4 separate regions of the Homo sapiens genome follow, and regions 2, 3 and 4 are each linked to region 1. Evidence: promoter capture Hi-C in human tissues and cell types (Jung and others, 2019). All regions are on one chromosome and are shown on one strand. Each heading gives the region's core, a stretch centred on a gene start or on the middle of the fragment in contact. The rest is flanking DNA. Distances are from core to core; before and after follow the strand shown. Region 1 holds the start of LGALS4 (galectin 4). Region 2 overlaps RYR1 (ryanodine receptor 1). Region 3 overlaps CATSPERG (catsper channel auxiliary subunit gamma). Region 4 overlaps RYR1 (ryanodine receptor 1).

What was found. Contacts are between HindIII fragments. The study calls those that stand out against the background at their distance.
Region 2: a contact is called between a fragment that was not itself captured here and the fragment with the promoter of LGALS4 in region 1, in 1 of the 25 tissues and cell types used here (bladder).
Region 3: a fragment that was not itself captured here is called in contact with the fragment with the promoter of LGALS4 in region 1 in 1 of the 25 tissues and cell types used here (spleen).
Region 4: a contact is called between a fragment that was not itself captured here and the fragment with the promoter of LGALS4 in region 1, in 2 of the 25 tissues and cell types used here (adrenal gland and lymphoblastoid cells).

Annotation. Positions count from the first base shown.
Region 1 is chr19:38,811,695-38,816,830 of GRCh38, reverse strand. It overlaps LGALS4 (galectin 4), which reads left to right and starts at 3,886. Exons shown (of 10, transcript NM_006149.4): 1 at 3,886-3,989; 2 at 4,312-4,400. The coding sequence starts at 3,945. It overlaps ECH1 (enoyl-CoA hydratase 1), which reads left to right. Exons shown (of 10, transcript NM_001398.3): 7 at 308-378; 8 at 476-547; 9 at 824-974; 10 at 1,114-1,409. The coding sequence ends at 1,218. RefSeq lists a silencer at 876-1,076. The HindIII fragment of the contact is 29,723 bases long and covers 1-5,136 here.
Region 2 is chr19:38,518,618-38,523,719 of GRCh38, reverse strand. It overlaps RYR1 (ryanodine receptor 1), which reads right to left. Exons shown (of 106, transcript NM_000540.3): 67 at 4,266-4,506; 68 at 605-692; 69 at 411-503. Among named protein-coding and RNA genes, the nearest start is that of MAP4K1-AS1, 75 kb to the left of the region's middle. The HindIII fragment of the contact is 3,952 bases long and covers 1-3,226 here.
Region 3 is chr19:38,338,562-38,344,018 of GRCh38, reverse strand. CATSPERG (catsper channel auxiliary subunit gamma) reads right to left here. Exons shown (of 29, transcript NM_021185.5): 4 at 295-439; 5 at 1-26. Among named protein-coding and RNA genes, the nearest start is that of CATSPERG, 5.5 kb to the right of the region's middle. RefSeq lists an enhancer at 1-674. The HindIII fragment of the contact is 4,605 bases long and covers 445-5,049 here.
Region 4 is chr19:38,539,703-38,545,005 of GRCh38, reverse strand. It overlaps RYR1 (ryanodine receptor 1), which reads right to left. Exons shown (of 106, transcript NM_000540.3): 85 at 1,571-1,659; 86 at 1,346-1,474; 87 at 1,131-1,235. Among named protein-coding and RNA genes, the nearest start is that of MAP4K1-AS1, 54 kb to the left of the region's middle. RefSeq lists enhancers at 314-403, 754-813. The HindIII fragment of the contact is 5,194 bases long and covers 1-3,922 here.

The DNA.
Region 1 (5,136 bases), core at 2,637-5,136:
AGGCAGGATGGAGCCGGGGGATGCAGTAAAGGGGTCTCAGGTAGGGTGAGGAGGGTTCCTCTCTCACAGATGGAGCTGCCCTGAGGGAATGGGAGGGTGCATGAGTGGGAAGGTGGGCTCTATTCTAGGTTGAAGGAACTTGCCTGAGTCAAGAAGCTGCCTGGGCAATGGAATGGGACTTTGGAGGAAGTCACTGGGGTGAAGGTGGGGCGGGACTCTCCAGTAGACATGAAATTTCATGGACGTTGACATTGCGAGGGGCACAGTATTGGGCAGAAACCAAACACTGACCCGATTCCTCCCCCAGGAGGTGGACGTGGGTTTGGCTGCCGATGTAGGAACACTGCAGCGCCTGCCCAAGGTCATCGGGAACCAGAGGTGGGTGCAGGGGGTGTGGGGGTGTGGGCAGGAGACCCCAGAGCATCTCCCAGCCCCGGGGTGGCAGCCGCCTCCTGATGCACGCTTGCCTTTGCAGCCTGGTCAACGAGCTGGCCTTCACCGCCCGCAAGATGATGGCTGACGAGGCCCTGGGCAGTGGGCTGGTCAGGTAGGGCCATGGCCGTGGTAGCTCAGTGCTGGGGGCAGCCAGGCCTGGAGGGTTGGAGGCCTCTCCGGGTCCCCTTGTCTCCTCGCTCTAGAATTCCTAGTGGCATCCTTTCTTGGTGAGCTCATTTCTTTATTGTGGGGTCAGCCCCCTGCTCTGATTGGGCTGTTTCTCTGGGGTCTTGGGCCTTCCTCTGTGAGTGGCCACTTCTTCATCTGCGGGAGGCTGGAGGAGAGAGCCCTTCCCAGCCCACCCGGTCCCTGATCTCTTTCACTGCAGCCGGGTGTTCCCAGACAAAGAGGTCATGCTGGATGCTGCCTTAGCGCTGGCGGCCGAGATTTCCAGCAAGAGCCCCGTGGCGGTGCAGAGCACCAAGGTCAACCTGCTGTATTCCCGCGACCATTCGGTGGCCGAGAGCCTCAACTACGTGGTAAGGTGCACGCTCCGACCAATCACAGCCCTCCTCTAACCCCAGGCGACCAACCAGGGTGCAGGGTGCTCTCATGCTTTATCCTGATTGGCCCCTGCTAATCTCTCTCCTCGTTCTCTCTCAACACCCTCGGTACCAGGCGTCCTGGAACATGAGCATGCTGCAGACCCAAGACCTCGTGAAGTCGGTCCAGGCCACGACTGAGAACAAGGAACTGAAAACCGTCACCTTCTCCAAGCTCTGAGAGCCCTCGCGTCCCAGGCCCCAGCCAGGGGGCCGGCCTTGTCCCGCCTCATCCACAGAAAGGGAGGATGGGCGATGACAGTTGTTTCTATGCCTTCTGACCCAGTTTCCCAGTTTATAACTTTATGACAATGAGTTTCTCAAGCCCAAGGCCTTATCTTCACCCCACAAACAATAAAGCAAAGTAAAGAACCTGGTGCCCTTCTTGGATAGAGGAGAGGTGGGAGGGGCTGGGATGCACCTAGGGGCTCCAGAGACTGCAGTCCTGAAGGCTGGGGCTAGAGGTTGGATGCATGGGAATGGGTGGCATGGAGGTGATGGCCATTCAGACTGGCAGCGGGCAGGCGAGGGGCACAAGGAATTCCGGGGCGGAGGGAGTGAGCAAAAGTCGCTGGGGTCCCTCTGGGTTGCAAGGCTTCCTGGTCTCCCTGCCTGCCCTGGGGTTGAGGGTGGCGTTCGTGCCCTGCCTGGCACCTCTCACTGCACAGCACATGGGATCTGATGCTGGCGTCTCACACCTGTAATCCCAGCACTTTTGGAGGCTGACGCAGGTGGATTGCCTGAGCTCAGGAGTTTGCAACCAGCCTAGTCAACATGTTGAAACCCAGTCTCTACTAAAAATACAAAAATTAGCTAGGTGTGGTGGCAGGTGCCTCTAGTCCCAGCTACTCGGGAGGCTGAGGCAGGAGAATCCTTGAACCCAGGAGGTGAGTTTGCAGTGAGCTGAGATCATGCTGCTGCAGTCCAGCCTGGGTGACAGAGTGAGACTCTGTCTCAAAAAAAGAAAAAACAAAACAAAAAAGGACTTTGGGGTTTCTGGCCGGGTGCAGTGGCTCATGCCTGTAATTCCAGCACTTTGGGAGGTTGAGGCAGGTGGATCACTTGAGGTCAGGAGTTTGAGACCAGCCTGGCCAACATGGCAAAACCTGGTCTCTACTAAAAATACAAAAATTAGCCAGGCGTGGAGTAAGCCTGTAATCCCAGCTATTCAGAAGGCTGAGGCAGGAGAATCCCTTGAACCTGGGAGGTGGAGGTTGCAGTGAGCTGAGATGGTGCCACTGCACTGCAGCCTGGGTGATAGAGCAAGACTCTGTCTCAAAAATGAGCAAACAAAACTTTGGGATTTTTTATCCATATATCATCCCAATCTTCCGGATTTATGTTTGGAATGACTGCAAGAGACCAAGCATTAAGTTAATGACTTCTATATGCTATGTCCTGTTCTGAGCATTTATTATCTTAATGATCAAGGACTCTATGAAGTTGATACTATTATGATTATTATTATTATGACTATTATTGTTGCTATTTTTAGAGACGGACTCTTAGTCTGTCACCCAGGCTGGAGTGCAGTGGCATGATCATAGCTCACTGTAACCTTAACTCCTGGGTTCAAGCGATCCTCCTGCCTCAGCCTCTGAGTAGCTAGGAATACAGATGTGTGCTACCATGCCCAGCTAATTTTTATTTTATTTTTGTAGAGATGGGGGTCTCACTATGTTGCCCAGGCTGGTCTTGAACTCCTGGGCTCAAGCAGTCCTCCTGCTTCAGCTTCCCAAATTGCTGGGATTGTAGGCACAAGCCACCACACCCAGCCTAAGGTTGATACTACTCTTTTCTTTATTTATTTATTTTTCTGAGTGGCAGTTGGACCCACAGCTAGAACTTATTTGGCAGATTAATAACATACAGGCATTACTGGATCACAAATTCATTTTTAAAATATTTTGATAGCTATTCAATACTTGTTTCCTCTCTTATGAATTCCTTTTTTTTTTTTTTTTTTTTTGAAACAGAGTCTCCATCTGTCATCCAAGCTGGAGTGCAGTGGCGTGACCTTGGCTCACTGCACTCTCCTCCACTCAGGTTCAAGTGATTCTCCTGCCTCAGCCTCCAAGTAGATGGGATTATAGGCACCCACCACCATGCCTGGCTAATTTTTGTATTTTTAGTAGAGACTGGGATTTTGCCAGGCTGGTCTCGAACTCCTGCCCTCAGGTGATCCATCCACCTCGGCCAGTCAAAGTGCTGGGATTACAGGCATGAGCCACTGCACCCAGCCGATACTACTATATCCCCATTTTACAGATGAGCACATGGGCAAATTGAGGGTAAGGCACTGACCCATGATCATACAGCTGAGAAGTGGCAAAGGCAGGATTTGAACCTAGAACCTCTGGCTCCACACACTAGTAATCTAAACCACTCTCCCTACAATACAACATACGTGGTAAAGATGTGTGGTGGGCACGCAATCAACGTAGGTCCCTTCACAGTTGCTGGGAGAGGCAGGAATTTGCAGTTCCTCCGCGTTCTCCTCCTCCGCTGCCCACCTGTCCTGGGTCATTCCTGCAGCCTGCCCTGCCCTGCCTGGTCTCACCCTCCCTCTGCCAACAGAAGTCTGGGCAGGGTTTTATGGGCTCTGATAAGGCCCTGGCAGGGCCGAAGTTCATGAGCACTTCCTCTTTGCAGGAGGGCGTAGGGGAGGGGACCCAGGTGATTTGGGTCCTGGCTGGTCACCAGGGAAGCTGGCAAGGGAAGGGAGACTAGGGTGCGCTCTAGGAGAAGCCGACAGCCTGAGAGTCCCAGAAGAGGAGCCCTGTGGACCCTCCCCTGCCAGCCACTCCCTTACCCTGGGTATAAGAGCCACCACCGCCTGCCATCCGCCACCATCTCCCACTCCTGCAGCTCTTCTCACAGGACCAGCCACTAGCGCAGCCTCGAGCGATGGCCTATGTCCCCGCACCGGGCTACCAGCCCACCTACAACCCGGTGAGATGCCAGCTCAGGCCCCACTCCGCCCGCAGCTCCGTCCATAAGCCCTCACACCAATTTTCCCCACTCTGATCCTGGGGGGCCCCATCTGACTCTGTGGTCTGATTTACCCAAAGCTGACCCCGACCCTCGATTTACTCCTACCCTGACCTCAGGCTGTCTGTGTCCACGTCTAACTGTTGGCCCTCGTCATCTTCAACCTGGTCCTCCCCCATGGTTTCCTCTCTCCTGCTTAAGGGACTGGGGGGCTTTTCTGGGAGGGGTAAAGGCTGCAACAGGCAGATGGCTTGTGAGTCCCCTCACCAGGCCTCTTCTCCAGACGCTGCCTTACTACCAGCCCATCCCGGGCGGGCTCAACGTGGGAATGTCTGTTTACATCCAAGGAGTGGCCAGCGAGCACATGAAGCGGTAAGACCCTCCCCAAGCCAGGCCGGGCTGGCAGGGGACTTCCAACTGGGTGCTCTGGGCCTGGCTGTTGGGGGCTTTCTGCCCTTACCCCACCCTGGTGGAGAGGGGACTCTTTTTCTGCCCCACCCAATAGCCAGAGATGAATCTGGGGCAGATCAGGAGTGGGGACGTGGGGGCCAGAAGGTTCAGGGAGGGCTCACCGTGAGAGGCAGTCCCTGAGTTGGACATTAGACTGAAGCTGATGGGTGCAATGGCAGGAATTCAGATCACAGGCTCAGAGCCGGGTCCCCGAGTTAAAATCCCAGCTCTGCCACTCCCCAGCTCTGTGTTGGTGAAAGAGTGAAAGTGACTATACCTCTCTGTGCTTCATTTTCTTTTCTTTTCTGTTTTTGTTTTTTTTGTTTTTTTTTTTGTTTTGAGATGGAGTTTTGCTCTTGTCGCCCAGGCTGGAGTGCAATGGCATGATCTTGGCTCACTGCAACCTCTGTCTCCCAGGTTCAAGCGATTCTCCTGCCTCAGCCTCTTGAGTAGCTGGGATTACAGGCATGTGCCAGCACACTGGCTAATTTTTGTATTTTTAGTAGAGATGGGGTTTCACCATGTTGGTCAGGCTGGTCTCGAACTCCTGACCTCAAGTGATCCTCCCATCTCGGCCTCCCAAAGTGCTGGGATTACAGGCGTGAGCCACTGCGCCTGGCCCAGTCTTAGCTTTTTAAAAAGGGCCTTAACACGTTGA
Region 2 (5,102 bases), core at 1-2,500, 290 kb after region 1:
ATAGGGAGGAAAGCAGGAAATGGGGTAATGGGGAGAGGAAGAAAGAAATGGAAGAGGGGGAAAATGGGGAGGAGGAGGAGGAGGGAAATGGGAGGAGAGAGAGGCTTGGAGAAGAGGAAAATGGAGAGGAGGGAAATGGGAGGAGGGAGAAGATACAGGAGGAGGAAGGAGACAGAGATGAGAGAAGAGGGAGATGGAGAGGAGGAGGGAGATGGGAGGAGGGAGAAGATACAGGAGGAGGAAGGAGCTGGGGAGGAAGGGAGAGGGAGAGGAGGTAAGAGGGGCTGCTCTGAGGACTGCAGGGATTGCGCCCAGGACGGGCTGGCTGGGTGAGGACAGGCCAGGTAGGAAGTCCTAGAGGGTGCTCCCGCCCTCTCTGCCAAGTGCTCCTCCCAGAACCAAGCCCCGACCTTAGCCATTTTGCTTTTGTTGTCAGCAGTCAGGAAGGACATGTTGTTGATCTCATTCTGGACCACAAAGTTCTGCTCCTCGCGCTTGAAGTTCTGGTGGGGGAAGCAGTGTTGCAGACCGGACAGGTGAAGGCAGGCGCCTGTGGGCTGCGGCTCCTCTGGTTGTGGGGAGGGCGGTTGGGGTGGGCACTCACGTGGGACTTGGACCAGTAGATGAAGATCTCGCCCACCATCCTGAACAGCTCCTCCGCGCTGGGATTCGGCTCCGTCAGCCACTGCGCCCTGGGGTCAGCGGAGGGGAGGTGAGGGAGGGGGTGGGGATCCCAGGGAAGGGGGCTGCCCAGAGAGAGATCTTGGAGGAGGAGATGGGGACCAGGAGACATCCAGTCAGAGGGATGGGGTTTCTAGGGTCATCTGGCCATGCAGATGAACATTAAAAAAATTTTTTTTCTCTGTCTCAGCCTCCCGAGTAGCTGGGACTACAGGGGCCCGACACCACACCGGGCTAATTTTTGTATTTTTAGTAGAGACGGGGTTTCACCATGTTGGGCACGCTGGTCTTGAACTCTTGACCTTACGTGATCCACCCACCTCGGCCTCCCAAAGTGCTGGGATTACAGGTGTAAGCCACTGTGCCCAGCTGAACATTTAAAATTTTTTAACGATCCATTCTCTCTCTCTCTCTCTCTTTCTTTCTTTCTGAGACAGGGTCTCAATCTGTCAGGCTGGAGTACAGTGATGCGATCTCCACTCACTGCAACCTCAACCTCCCAGGCTTAAGTGATCCTCCCACTTCAGCCTCCCTGAGTAGCTGGGACTACAGGTGCACGTCACCATGCCCAGGCCTGGCTAATGTTTTATTTTATTTTTTGTAGGAAGAGGGTCTCCCTAGGTTGTCCAGGCTGGTCTTGAACTCCTGGGCTCAAGAGATCCTCTTTCCCTGACCTCTCAAAGTGCTGGGATTACAGGTGTGAGCCACCTTCCCTGGCCTGACTATTCCTTTTTTAAAAAACTTTGTCTAACCTTTTCATCGAAATACATAAATATAATACATGCATGCAATACATAGACACACATGATACATACATATGTATTATATAACCTACATATTAAGAAATATCAACCTGGTGAATTATCACAAATGAACACACTTGTGTAGCCAGCACCGAAGTCAAGAAATAGGACATTTCTGGTCCCTGGAAGTACTATCATGGCCCCTCCCAGCCACTCCCCCTTCCTCCTCCTGAAAAATCATCCATATTCTAACTTCTAGGCTAAAAACTTTTTAAAATTTTTTCTTTCAGCTGGGCGCAGTGGCTCATGCCTGTAATCCCAGCACTTTGGGAGGCCGAGGCGGGCAGATCACGAGGTCAGGAGATCGAGACCATCCTGGCTAACACGGTGAAACCTCATCTCTACTAAAAAATACAAAAAAATTAGCCGGGTGTGGTGGCAGGCACCTGTGGTCCCAGCTACTCAGGAGGCTGAGGCAGGAGAATGGCGTGAACCCGGGAGGTGGAGCTTGCAGTGAGCAGAGATCGCACCACTGCACCCCAGCCTGGGCGAGACTCCATCTCAAAAAAAAAAAAAAAAATTTTCTTTTTTTCTTTTTTGAGACAGGGTCTCGCTCTGTCGCCCAGGCTGGAGTGCAGTGGTGTGATCTCAGCTCACTGCAACTTCTGCCTCCCAGGTTCCAAGTGATTCTCCTGCCTCAGCCTCCCACTCAGGAGTACTTAGCTGGGACTACAGGTATGCGCCACCACGCCCGGCTAATTTTTGTATTTTCAGTAGAGACAGGGTTTTTGCATGTTGCCCAGGCTGGTCTCAAACTTCTGAGTTTGAGACTGAGTTTGAGTGATCCACTCTCTTTGGCCACCCAAAGTGCTGGGATTACAGTCACGAGCCACTGCACCCAGCATAAAATTTCTTTTTTTTTTGAGACAGGGTCAGAATCTAAGTAGGTTCACATATTTTATTTTATTCATTTACTTGTATTAAAAAAAAACAAACCTTATTGAGACAGGGTCTATCTCTGTTGCCCAGGTTGGAGTGCAGCGGTGTGATCATAGCTCACTGCAGCTTTGACCTCCTGGGCTCAAACGATCCTCCCACCTCAGCCTCCCAGTCCCAGCCTGAGGCAAGGACTACAGGTGTGTGTCACCATGCCTGACTAATTTTTGTATTTCTTTTCTTTTTTTGTAGAGACAGGGTCTAGCCATGTTGCCTAGGCTGGTCTCAAATTCCTGAGCTCAAGTGATCCTCCCGCCTCAGTCTCTCAAAGTGCTGGGATTACAGTTGTAAGCCACTGCACCCGGCCCCAAACTTATTCTTATCTGCTCGTGAACATTAAACAGATGGTAAAATATGTAGTTTATTTCTTGGTTTTCTGGCTTCTTTCATTCCACCTAACATTTGTGAAAGCCAATCACATTGTGCATAGAAACAACTTGTTCACTCCCACTGCCGTGGAGTCTTCTGTTGTATGAATAAACCACAATTTGTTCATATTTACTGATTGAAAAATTGAACTATATCCAACAGCAGAGAATGTCACACGACCACCAAGACAAAAGAGGTGAATCTATACATCTTTTTTTTTTTTTTTTTTTTTTTTTTGAGGTGGAGCCTCGCTCTGTTCCTAGGCTGGAGTGCAGTGACACGATCTCAGCTCAGTGCAACCTCTGCCTCCCAGGCTCAGGCGATTCTCCTGCTTCAGCCTCTGGAGTAGCTGGGATTTCAAGCCTGCGTCACTACGCCTGGCTAATTTTTGTATTCATAATAGAGACAGGGTTTCGCCACGTTGGCCAGGCTGGTCTCAAACACCTGACCTCAGGTGATCTGCCCACCTCGGCCTCCCAAAGTGCTGGGATTACAGGCATGAGCCACCACACCCGGCCTATATGTCTTTCATGGTGTATTGTTGTGTTAAAAAAAAAAAAAAAGCAGCTAAGTGTGGTGGCTCACTTCTGTAATCCCAACACTTTGGGAGGCTGAGGTGGGAGGATCACTTGACCCCGGGAATTCAAGACCAACCTGGGCAACATAGTGAGACCCCATAAAAATACAAGAATTAGCCGAGCATGTTGGTGTGAGTCTATAATCCCAGCTACTCAGGGGCAGAAGCAGAGGATCGCTTGAACCCAGGAACCGAGGCTGCAGCAAGCCATGATCATGCCACAGCACTCCAGCCTGGGCAACAGAGAGAGACCCTGTCTCAATAAAAAAAAAAAAAAAAAAAGCAAACTATTCCTTACGGTGTTGTGCATAGTGACAAAGAAATCGACACAATCTAAATGTCCAGCATTAGGAGAATGATTTAAAAAAAATCACACTGGCCAGCTGCATTGGCTCACAGCTGTAATCCCAGCACTTTGGGAGGCCGAGGCAGGCAAATCATGAGGTCAAGAGTTCAAGACCAGCCTGGCCAACATGGTGAAAATCTGTCTCTACTAAAAATACGAAACTTAGCTGGGCGTGGTGGCATGCACCTGTAATCCTAGCTACTGGGAAGGCTGAGGCAGGAGAATCACTTGAACCCGGGAGGTGGAGGTTACAGTGAGCCGAGATCGCGCCACTGCATTCCAGCCTGGGCAATAAAGCGAGGCTCTGTCTCCAAAAACAAAAACAAACAAAAAAAAACCCAAAAACCAAAAACAAAAAGAAACAAACAAGTGGGCTGGCTGTCGTTGGACCAATGTGCTCAAAGCCAGAAGAAACCAGGAGGAAGAGTCAGAAGGTTGGTGGGGCCAGAGCATTGGAAGAAGTTTCTAGCCAGTCAGGAGGCGGAGATCAGATGGGGCTGGAGGACGTGGGAGGTCGGGGCGGAGGGCATGGGGACAGCGGGGCCCCGCTGACCTGTTGTTGTCCACGTAGCGGATGAGCAGCGGATACAGGGCGTAGAGGTCCCGGCAGAGCACAGAGAACTCGTCCCGCACCAGCAGCTCGCCCTCCTGGGCCTCCGCCTTGGCCTCCAGGCGCAGCTGCTCCTCCTCGGACACCACCTTCCCTGCCCTCTTGCGCAGCCGCCCGATAGTTGGGATGAAGTGGGACTGCAGGAGCTCCGGCCGTGCACGGCTCACAATGGGCTGTGCGAACACTGCAGGGGTGCGATGGGCTCTGATGCCACCTCCGGCCTCTGACACAGGCCCCAAACTCCGTTCCCAGCCCGACTCCCAAACAGCATCTCCAACCTAGCAGCTGCCATTTGACCCCAGCCTGACCCTAACCTTGGATATAGTCCCTGAACACTGATCCCAGCCATAGCCCCTAACCTGAACCTAAGACCCAGTCCCTATCCTGTGACCCCAGCCTGGCACAAATCCCTGACCTCTGACCCCCAACAACAGACGCCTCACCTGTTACCTAACTTTTTTTTTTTTTTTGAGACAGAGTTTCACTCTTGTCACCCAGACTGGAGTGCAATGGCGCAATCTTGGCTCACTGCAACCTCTGCCTCCCGAGTTCAAGCGATTTTCCTGCCTCAGCCCCGAGTAGCTGGGATTACAGGCGTCTGCCACCACACCCAGCTAACTTTTGTATTTTTGGTAGAGATGGGGTTTCACCATGTTGGCCAGGCTGGTCTCGAACTCCTGACCTCAGGAGATCCACCCGCCTCGGCCTCCCATAGTGCTGGGATTACAGGCGTGAGCCACTGCACCTGGCCTGTTACCTCACCCTTAACTAGCATGACCC
Region 3 (5,457 bases), core at 1,498-3,997, 470 kb after region 1:
ACACACTTCTTCTGCCATGCATGGCTCTGCAGGGAGGCCCTGGGCACTGAAACTGCTGGGGCCTCCCAATGGCCGGTTCCAGGCCCCAGACCACCCTGGGATCTCCCCACAACTCCCCATACCTGCCTCCACGCCATGGGTCCCACTGGGGCCTCTGTGTGGCCCCTCTAGGCCATGGAATGTGCTGAGCTCCCGCCCCCCACATACCCTCCTCAGATCATGGCCCCACAGAGGCCCCCAGCAAACCCCACACCCCTGCCAGGTTGCGATCCCTCCCGCCTCCCCCAGGCCCACCTTTGCTGCGGAAGGGGGCAGCCTCCATCTGGATCTGCAGCTGCTCTATCTTCCAGCGGTAGAAGTTGACTGGGGACTGGAAGGTGACCAGCACCAGGGGCTTTAGCCCCGTCAGGTGGCCCATGCGCACCAGGTCCTCAGAGGGCTGAGGGTGAGATGGCCCCACAAGTGTGTCCTTATGGTAGCCTCTGGGTGCCCCCTGCCTTAAGCCCGCCTCTAACAGTCTGTCTCCTGGGCTGTCCGGGGGCAGCACACTGTCCACCATGTGATGGTCAGAGGACATGGTCTAGGTTTGGGGCTTGGATGGGGGATGGAACAGCCTAGGAGGGGGCAGAGGGGTAAGGGGCTGTGGAGGGAGTCGGAGGCCTTCCTGGAGGAGATGACTCCAGAGCCAGTGTCTGCAGACAGAATGTGCATGTAGGGAATACATAGGGAAGGGCAGCATGGGATGAACAAAACTGTGCAGGTGGGAGGGATGCTGGGAAGGTGGGAGGGATGTGGCACCCAGGGTGCTGCTTTCCACTCCAGGGATTCCCAGTTCCAGGCTTAAAAAAAAAAAATTAGATTGCCCAGGCTGGTCTTGAACTCCTGGTCTCAAGTGAGCCTCCCACCTTGGCCTCCCAAAGTGCTGGCATTAAAGGCGTGAGCCATCTCATCTGGCCCCCAGTCTCACTCTTGAGGTGGGCTTCCACCCTCTCTGCAGCAGACTTTCTGCCACCTATGCAAGTCAGAGGACAGCCAAGTTCTGGGCCTTGAGCTTGGGGTGAGTGTAGGATGGGGCGATTACACAGGAAGGGACTGAGGACGAGGGTGACAGGGCATGCCTGGACAACCTCCCAGGGATGCGGGATCCTGGCTGAATAGAAAAGGGTGGGGAGCGCTTAGAGTGGAGATGGGAGAAGAGGAGAAGGATGTTTCAGGCATGCAGAACAGCACCAGTGAAGGCTAAGAGGCGTCCCCGAGAGAAGGCGGCACTCAGGCCACCAAGGGGAGGCCTTGGTTGCTGTGGGACCAGGGCGAGGGATTTACCAGATTCAGCACCTGTGCACAGCCCTTCATCGAGAGGGCTGACTTTCTTTACTTTCTTTGCCAGGCTCCTTTCTTTTCCTTTTTTTTTTTTTTTTCAAGAAGGAGTCTCACTCTGTCGCCCAGGCTACAGTGCAGTGGCATGATCTCGACTCACTGCAGCCTCTGTCTCCTGGGTTCAAGTGATTCTCCTGCCTCAGCCTCCTGAGTAGCTGGGACTACACACGTGCACCACCATGCCCAGCTAATTTTTGTATTTTTAGTAAAGATGAGGTTTCACCACGTTGGCCAGCCTGGTCTCAAACTCCTGACCTCAACTGATCTGCGCGCTTCGGCCTCCCAAAGTGCTGGGATTACAGGCATGAGCCACCAGGCCATTCTTTCTTTGAAAACTGTTTAATTTTTGTAGAGACAGAGTCTACTCTGTTGCCCAGGCTGGCTATTTCTGTAATTTATTTATTTATTTATTTATTTATTTATTTTTTACATGGGACAGGGTCTTGCTATGTTGGCCAGGTTGGTCTTGAACTCTTGGCCTCAAGCAATCCTCCAGCCTTAGCCTCCTAAAATGCTAGGATTACAGGTGTAAGCCACTGCACCTGGCTTTTTTTTTTTTTTTTTAAGATAAGGTCTTGCTCTGTTGCCCAGTCCGGAGTGCAGTGGTGCCATCACAGCTCACTGTAACCTCCACCTCTCCCAGACTTCAGCAATCCTCTTACCTCAGCCTCCCAAATAGCTGGGACTACAGGTACCACTACCACGCCTGGCTAATTTTTTTATTTTTTATTTTTTTTCCGAGACGGAGTTTTGCACTTGTTGCCCAGGCTGGAGTATAAGGGCGCCATCTCAGCTCATTGCACCCTCTGCCTCCTAGGTTCAGGCGATCGTCCTGCCTCAGCCTCCCAAGTAGCTGGGATTACAGGCATGCGCCACCACGCCCGGCTAATTTTTGCATTTTTAGTAGAGATGGGGTTTCACCATGTTGGTCAGGCTAGTCTCGAACTCCTGAACTCAGGTGATCCACCTGCCCTGGCCTCCCAAAGTGCTGGGATTACAGGCATGAGCCACTATGCCCGGCCCAATTTTTTGATTTTTTTTGTAGAGACAGGGTCTCCCTATGTTGTCCAGGCTGGTCTTGAATTCTTGGGCTCAAGCAATCTTCTCTCCCTGGCCTCCCAAAGTGCTGGGATTATAGGTATGAGCCACCACACCCAGCACCAGGCTCTTTTCAATCCTGTCAACTACACCTGTCCCTGGCCCTGCCTGAGTTCCCATTGCAGAGGAGAAGGTGCTAGTGGGGCAGGGACCTCCTTCCTGTGAGGATGACAGTAGCCACTAACACCCTGGTCCTGTCCCCGTCATCTCCTGCCTGGGCAATGTAGCAGCCTCCTCCTTGTCTCACTGCTCCTGCCCTGCTCCCCCAACAACAGGAGGGAGCCAGTGAAGCCTGGAATCAGATCCAATCCCTCCTCTGCATAGGGCCCTCTCAGGCTCTGTCTCAGAGTAAAAGCCAAGTCCTCACCATGGCCCATCAAGCCCCAAAAACCTTCCCCCATCACTTCCCTGACCTCTCCTCCCACACTCCCTCTCACTCACTCTGCTCCAGCCACAAAGTCCTCTTCATAGTTTCTCACACATGCTGACCTCTTTCCTACCTCTGGGCCATCGTGCTGGCTCTTCCCTCGGCCTGGAAAGCTTTACCTGGCTCTCCTAATAATCCCCACTTTTTATCATTTGAGTCTCTGCTCAAGCCTTTCCAGAGTGACCTTCTCCAACGACCCCCACTAAAACAGTGCCCCCCCCTCCTTTCTAACGTATTACCTCATTTTATTATTTGCATTTATTAATACTACTCTCAGAAATTCTTTCATGCCAGCCTTAGGCAACATAGTGAGACCCTGTCTAATTGAAAGTACACTGGTGTGATGGCTTGAGCCTGTAGTCCCTGCTACTTGGGAGGCTGAGGCAGGAGGATCACTTCAGCCCAGGAGGTCGAGGCTGCAATGAGCTATGATCAAGCCACTGCATTTCAGCCTGGGTGACAGCGCAAGACCCTGTCTCTAAAAAAATAAAATTATTGGCCGGGCGCGGTGGCTCACATCTATAATCCCAGCACTTTGGGAGGCCGAGGCAGGTGGATCACCTGAGGTCAGGAGTTCAAGACCAGCCTGACCAATATGGAGAAACCCCATCTCTACCAAAAATACAAAATTAGCCGGGCGTGGTGGCGCACATCTGTAGTCCCAGCTACTTGGGCAGCTGAGGCAGGAGAATCGCTTGAACCCAGAATGTGTAGGCTGTACTGAGCCGAGATCATGCCACTGTACTCCAGCCTGGGTGACAGAGTGAGACCCTGTCTCAAAAAAAGAAAAAAAAAAAGACTCTGTGATACTGGCATATGAATAGGCATTTAGAGCAATGAATTATTGAGAAATCAATTCATTTAGAATAGAATTGAGTCCAGAAAGAAACCCTTATATTTATATTCAATTGATTTTTGACAAAGGTGCCAAGACAATTCAGCGGGGAAAGAATAATCTCAACAGGCCAGGCATGGTGGCTCACGCCTGTAGTCCCAGCACTTTGGGAGGCCAAGGCAGGTGGATCACCTGAGGTCAGGAGTTCGAGACCAGCCTGGCCAACATGGTGAAACCCTGTCTCTACTAAAATATAAAAATTAGCCAGGCATGGTGGCGCATGCCTGTAATTCCTGCTACTCAGTAGGCTGAGGCAGGAGAATCGCTTGAACCTGGGAGGGGGAGGTTGCAGTGAGCCAAGATCACGCCACTGCACTCCAGCCTGGGTGGCAGAATGAGATTTTGTCTCAAAAAAAAAAAAGAAGAATCTCACCAAACGGCATTGGGACAACTGGATATGCACGTGTAAAAGCTTGGACCTCACACCATATACAAAAATTAACTCAAAATGGATGAAAGACCTAAATGTAAGAGCTAAAACTAAAAATCTCTTGAAGAAAATATGAGTAAGTCTTCATGATCTTTAGTTACGCAAGGCCTTTGTAAATGACACAAAAAACACAAGCAAAAAAAAGAAAAAAATTTATAAACTGGGCTTCACCAAAATTAAAAACTTTAATTCCTGCTACTCAGGAGGCTGAGGCAGGAGAATCGCTTAGAACCCAGGAGGCAGAGACTGCAGTGTGCCGAGATTGCGCCACTGCACTCCAGCCTGGGCGACAGAGTGTTAGGAGAAGCTGAGGCAGGGCTTGCATGTCTGACATAATGTAAAAGAGTCTTGGAACATGTCCGGGGTCCAGGGTCTAAAACCCCTTGTGGCCTTTGGAACACCAAGCTCTGTGCTAAAGGGTGGAAGCCTACCATCATGCACCATAATCTAAGCCAAGGGCATAAAATCCCTCATGGCCTCGATAGAATCCAGGGCTCATGGCTCTGGAATGTGTCTAGACTTGCTTGCTCCTTGCGCTCCCAGGATTGATTGTATCTTGAGTTAAAAGAACCTGCTCTCCATTATCTCAAGCAGCAGAGCAAATGCTAAACCATCACAGCTGTAAATCATGTGCTTAATGCAATGTGCCCTTTTGACCTCCACATTCTCACCACCTGTTTCTTTGTTGGATTACCAATAAATAGCGTGGGCTCCCAGAGCTCGGGGCTTTAGCAGCCTCCATACACTAGCAATGGCCCTCTGGTCCCACTTTACTTCTCTCTCTCAAACTGCCTTTTTCTCAATCCTTTGACTCCGCCGGACTTCGTCGCCACCCCCTCCCCCCGACCTGGTGTTGGGTCTGATCACCCCAACAACAGAGTGAGACTCCATCTCAAAAATTAATTAATTAATTAATAAAAACAAAGACAGGGTCTCACTCTGTCACCCAGGCTGGAGTGTAGTGGCATGATCACAGTTCCCTGCAGCCTCAACCTCCTAGGCTCATTATGATGATCCTGCCTTAGCATTTCTACAGGTGGGAGCCACCATGCCCAGCCAAATTCACCTAGGCTAGTCTTGAGCTTCTGGATGCAAGTGATCCTCCCGTGCTGGTGTGGTGGCGCACAACTAGTCCCAGCTATTCAAGAGGCTGATGCAGAAGGTTCACTTGAGCCCAGGAGGTCAAGGCTGCAATGAGCTGTGATTTCACCATTGCACTCCAGCCTGGGT
Region 4 (5,303 bases), core at 76-2,575, 270 kb after region 1:
TGAGGCACCATTTTTTCCAGCCCAGGGAGACAGCCTGCTTGCAAATGCAGTCAAAGAGGAGGCAGTTCTGCTGACATCACTCTAAGCCCTGGATCTGTAATATGAACTGATAAATTCTTTATTTTTCTTAAGCCACCACTTTGCACTGGATTTCTAGCTTTTGCAACCTAGACTAGATGGTGGCGGATGAATTAGCCCTGCAGGATTTGGAATTCTACATGATGATACCAACACTCTCTAGAATTTTAGGATACCAACAGCACAACTTCAGCTGCTGTGACACGGAGGAATTGCATTCTAAGTTTAACTCCTTTTAAAAAGTCAGATGACAACGAATTAGGGTTTCTGCCAGCCCCTGGGGCACCTTTGAGCAAATTAGAAAAAAAGGCGTCCCCTAAAACACTTCCTGTAGGGAAGTTATAACATGCTGGATGCTTTACTGCCATCTGCTGGAAAACTAAACTATTGTAATAAATACACCATTATGTGTAGGATGTGAATGCTCTCAGAGATCGTGCCTTTGTGCAGTGCACGACCTGCGGAACAGTATATGGCAGCCTTGAATATAGTTACCAGACAGAAGCAGAGCAAATGGATTAAGTGTTCGTGAGACATTGGCAAGGCTGCAAAGGGGTGAGGGAAAGAGGAACAAGGATTATGGAAATGGAAGGTGGTGCTCAACAGGGACCTTACATCATGAATGCCTGATATGGGTGTCATCTGCCGCAAGTAAGATAAAGAAGCAAAACATTTCCTCAGCCCCAGGCTCTAATCTAGAAACCAGCCCCATCCTAGCCCAAGGACTGTCCACATCTGCGATGACTCATCAGAGAGAAAAACAGCAATCAATCATAGAGGAGCTCCGGCCATTGGGACGGGGCCAACACGTCAGACCAATGGAAGCGTGGATGGAAAACCAGCTGATTGGTGGGGAGGGAGGGGCAGAGGAGGAGGCGGGGTCATGCAGACAGCCAATCCAGAAAGAGGATGGATTTGGCCACTGAGAGGGAACCAGTCTGGAACATGCCGGGAGCACTCGGGTGACAAACTGACCAAAGGGGCAAGACTTGGAAATGGACCACTTGGGGGACGCCCGGAAGCAGGTGGATGGAGACCAGAGGGGCTCGAACCTGAGCGAGCTTCATCATCATGTGGGCGAACACGTGCAGGAATCCCACCACTGCGTCCCATAGGCGACTGTGCGCCAGGCTCTGCTGGTTCCCGGTGCAGGGACCCTGGGAGGCAGAGTGCCGTGTGGGGGGGAAGGGAATCCCCGAGAAGGGATCAGGGATCACGATGCGGGACCCCCTCCCTTCCCACTCCCGCCCCAGGGGGAGCGCCCTACCTGGATGTACTCAGTGAGGCTGTTGAACACCTGCTTAGCCACCGACATGGCTTTGGAGAAGTTCCTCTTGCCCTGCTCTTCAATGACATCCTTGCCCGAGTAGTACCAGTAGAAGTCGCTGATGGATTCCTGGTGGGGGCGGGTAGGGTGTGAGGGGGTGCTGGGGCCGACCATGGCCCTGCAGCCCCCGACCCAAGTCACACCTGAACCGTCTCACGTCCTCACCTGCAGCCGCAGGAGGTAGTCCACAGTGCAAATGATGATGTTAATAGTGGTCGTGTTCCCTGTCTGTGTCCGTAGGTAGTTCTGGAAATCTGGGGAGATGAAAAGTCATTTATCCAGCACCTCCCATGTGCTAGGGGAGATGAACAGTGGGTCATTTATTCATTTATGCAATACTCATGTGTTGAGTTCCTATTGTATGCCAGAAAGCATATCATCATCAATTTATTTAATAACTATCAAGTACTTACTATGTGACAGAGAAAGATGGATGATCATTTATTCATTTGTCTAAAAATACTGGCCGGGTGGCTCACGCCTGTAATTCCAGCACTTTGGGAGGCCCAGGCAGGCAGATCACCTGAGGTCAGGAGTTTGAGACCAGCCTGACCAACATGGTGAAACCCCGTCTCTACTAAAAATACAAAAATTAGCTGGGTGTGGTGGTGGGCACCTGCAATCCTAACTACTTGGGAGGCTGAGGCAGGAGAATCGCTTCAACCCCGGAGGCAGAGGTTGCAGTGAGTGGAGATCTCACCATTGCAGTCCAGCCTGGGCAACAAGATGGAAACCCCGTCTCAAAAATAAATAAATAAATAAATAAATAATTTTAAAATAGGCTGGGAGCGGTGGCTCACACCTGTAATCCCAGCACTTTGGGAGGCCCAGGTGGGTGGATCACTTGAGGTCAGGAGTTTGAGACCAGCCTGGCCAACATGGTGAAATCCCGTCTCTACTAAAAAAAATACAAAATTAGCCAGGTGTGGTGGCATGTGCCTGTAATCCCAGCTACCTGGGAGGCTGAGGCAGGAGAATTGCTTGAACCCGGAAGGCAGAGGTTGCAGTGAGCCTAGATCATGCCACTGCACTCCAGCTTGGGCAACAAGAGTGAAACTCCGTCTCAAAAAATAAATAAATATAAAAAAATAAAATATAAATATTATTGAGGGCCTGCTATGTGTCAAATGTGGTGGAGCGTCATTTATTCATTCAGTTTTTTCCAACAAATTTGTATATTGACCACCAACTATGTAGCAGGGAGAAATAGAGATTCAGTTCCTCGTTAGTTTCCAAACAATTTTATCAAATTCCTCCTATGTGCTGGGGATATTCATGCATTTATCCAACAAATATTTATTGAGCACCTACTAAAGGCCAGGGAACATATGGATTGGTCACTTGTTCATTTATTCAACATATTTTATTGAGTGTATACTACATCCTCACGAGATTAAGATTGTCACATCCTCTTTGCTACAACAAATTTGTTGCGTTCTTACTATGTGTCATGCAGTATTCTAGGCTCTGGGGATACAGTAGTAAAAAAAAAAAAAACAGTCCCCGGCCTTGGGGGGGATTTTTTTTTTTTTTTGACAAGGTCTCCCTCTGTTGCCTAGGTTGGAGTACTGTGGCATGATCATAGCTCACTGCAGCCTTGACCTCCTGGGTTCAAGTGGTCCTCCCACCTCAGCCTCCCAGGTAGCTGGAACTATAGGTGTGAGCCACCACATCCGGCCAATTTTTAATTTTTTTGTTGAGACCAGCCCAGGCTGGTCTCGAACTCCTGGCCTCAAGCAACCCTCCTACCTTGACCTCCCATAGTGCTGGGATTACAGACATGAGCCGTATGTCCAGCCCCTGCCCTTGTGAAGTTTATATTCTTGTGCAGTAATTTTTTAATCTTTTCTGACTGCAATCTATGGTAGGAAATCCTTTTTTTTTTGAGATACAGTCTTGCTCTGTCACCCAGGCTGGAGTGCAGTGGCATGATCTCAGTTCACTGCAAACTCTGCCTCCCAGGTTCAAGCAATTCTCCTGCCTCAGCCTCCTGAGTAGCTGGGATTACAGGCATGCGCCACCACGCCCGGCTAATTTTTTTGCATTTTTAGTAGAGACAGGGTTTCACCATATTGGACAGGCTGGTCTCCAACTCCTGACCTTGTGATCCACCTGCCTCGGCCTCCCAAAGTGCTGGGATTACAGGTGTAAGCCACCACACCCAGCCGAGGAAATCCTTTTTACATTGAGACCTGATACATGTGTTCAATCTGAAATTATATTCACCTATTCCCGAAAGAGAAGTTTCACATTGCCTTACTCTGTGCCATGCATTCTGTTCTTTTCTGTCCTGTACTGCTCTAGTTAACTACAAAAGAAGAAGTGTGTGCTTCTCATCCTCTCAACCTTGGCTGCACATCAGGACAACTAGGAGGCTTTTAAAAACCCCAGTGCTCAGGCCCAACCCCAGATCAATTGAATTAGAACCTGTAAAGGCAAAACCTGGGCTTAAGTCTCTTTTAAAGCTCCCCAGGCATGCCAGTGTACAATTACAATGAGAACCTCTGCGTGAAACTGATTCATGAACGTCTGTCTGATGGGTTGGTTCCCACTATTTAAAAAACATTGTTCTGTGAAAGCAAACTGTTAAAGCTGAGTGATGGGTAGTTGGGGGTTTATTATACTGTAATATATGATTGGAGGTTTATTACACTGTAGTATATGATTGGAGGTTTATTACACTGTAGTATATGATTGGAGGTTTATTACACTGTAGTATATGATTGGAGGTTTATTACACTGTAGTATATGATTGGAGGTTTATTACACTGTAGTATATGATTGGAGGTTTATTACACTTTAGTATATGATTGGAGGTTTATTACACTGTAGTATATGATTGGAGGTTTATTACACTGTAGTATATGATTGGAGGTTTATTACACTGTAGTATATGATTGGAGGTTTATTACACTGTAGTATATGATTGGAGGTTTATTACACTGTAGTATATGATTGGAGGTTTATTACACTGTAGTATATGATTGGAGGTTTATTACACTGTAGTATATGATTGGAGATTTATTACACTGTAGTATATGATTGGAGGTTTATTACACTGTAGTATATGATTGGAGGTTTATTACACTGTAGTATATGATTGGAGGTTTATTATACTGTAGTATATGATTGGAGGTTTATTATACTGTAGTATATGATTGGAGGTTTATTATACTGTAGTATATGATTGGAGGTTTATTATACTGTAGTATATGATTGGAGGTTTATTATACTGTAGTATATGATTGGAGGTTTATTATACTGTAGTATATGATTTTTTTTTTTTTTGGTAGAGACAGGGTCTCCTTATGTTGCCCAGACTTGTCTTGAACTGCTGGGCTCAAGTGATCCTCCTGCCTCAGCCTCCTAAAGTGCTGGGATTACAGGCATGAGCCACAGTGCCCAGCCAAGTCCTTTTAAATGTTTATAGCAACATCATGTTGCACAGGAAGGTTTTAACAGCCCCTGAAAGTATTTTTGCCCCCCGTTTTTCTTTCCCCTTAACTTTTTTACAGTCAGTTCACAATTGCTCTATCAGGTTGGCTCAACAGAAGGCCCATTTTGCCTAGTTTCATGACATAGACAAAGCATACTCAAATATTCAAAATTTTATAAGCAAAGGTACAGGTTTTCCCATCAACCCTGCTTTCTAACTCCTTTATTTGTGTTAATTTAAATTGTTAAATTAAATTGTGTTAATTTAAATTGGGCTATATGCAAAAATAAAAGATACACAGCTCCTGTAAAAAAAATTCTGGCAACTGACAACACCTGTTATAGACATGTGCAAATAAGTGAGAGACAAACCTTTTGTCTGCTTTGAATAGCACTGACTCCTCAAGACATGCAAGGGGTCTGAGATTTGAAAGATATTTCAAATATCTATTTGATTAGGTCA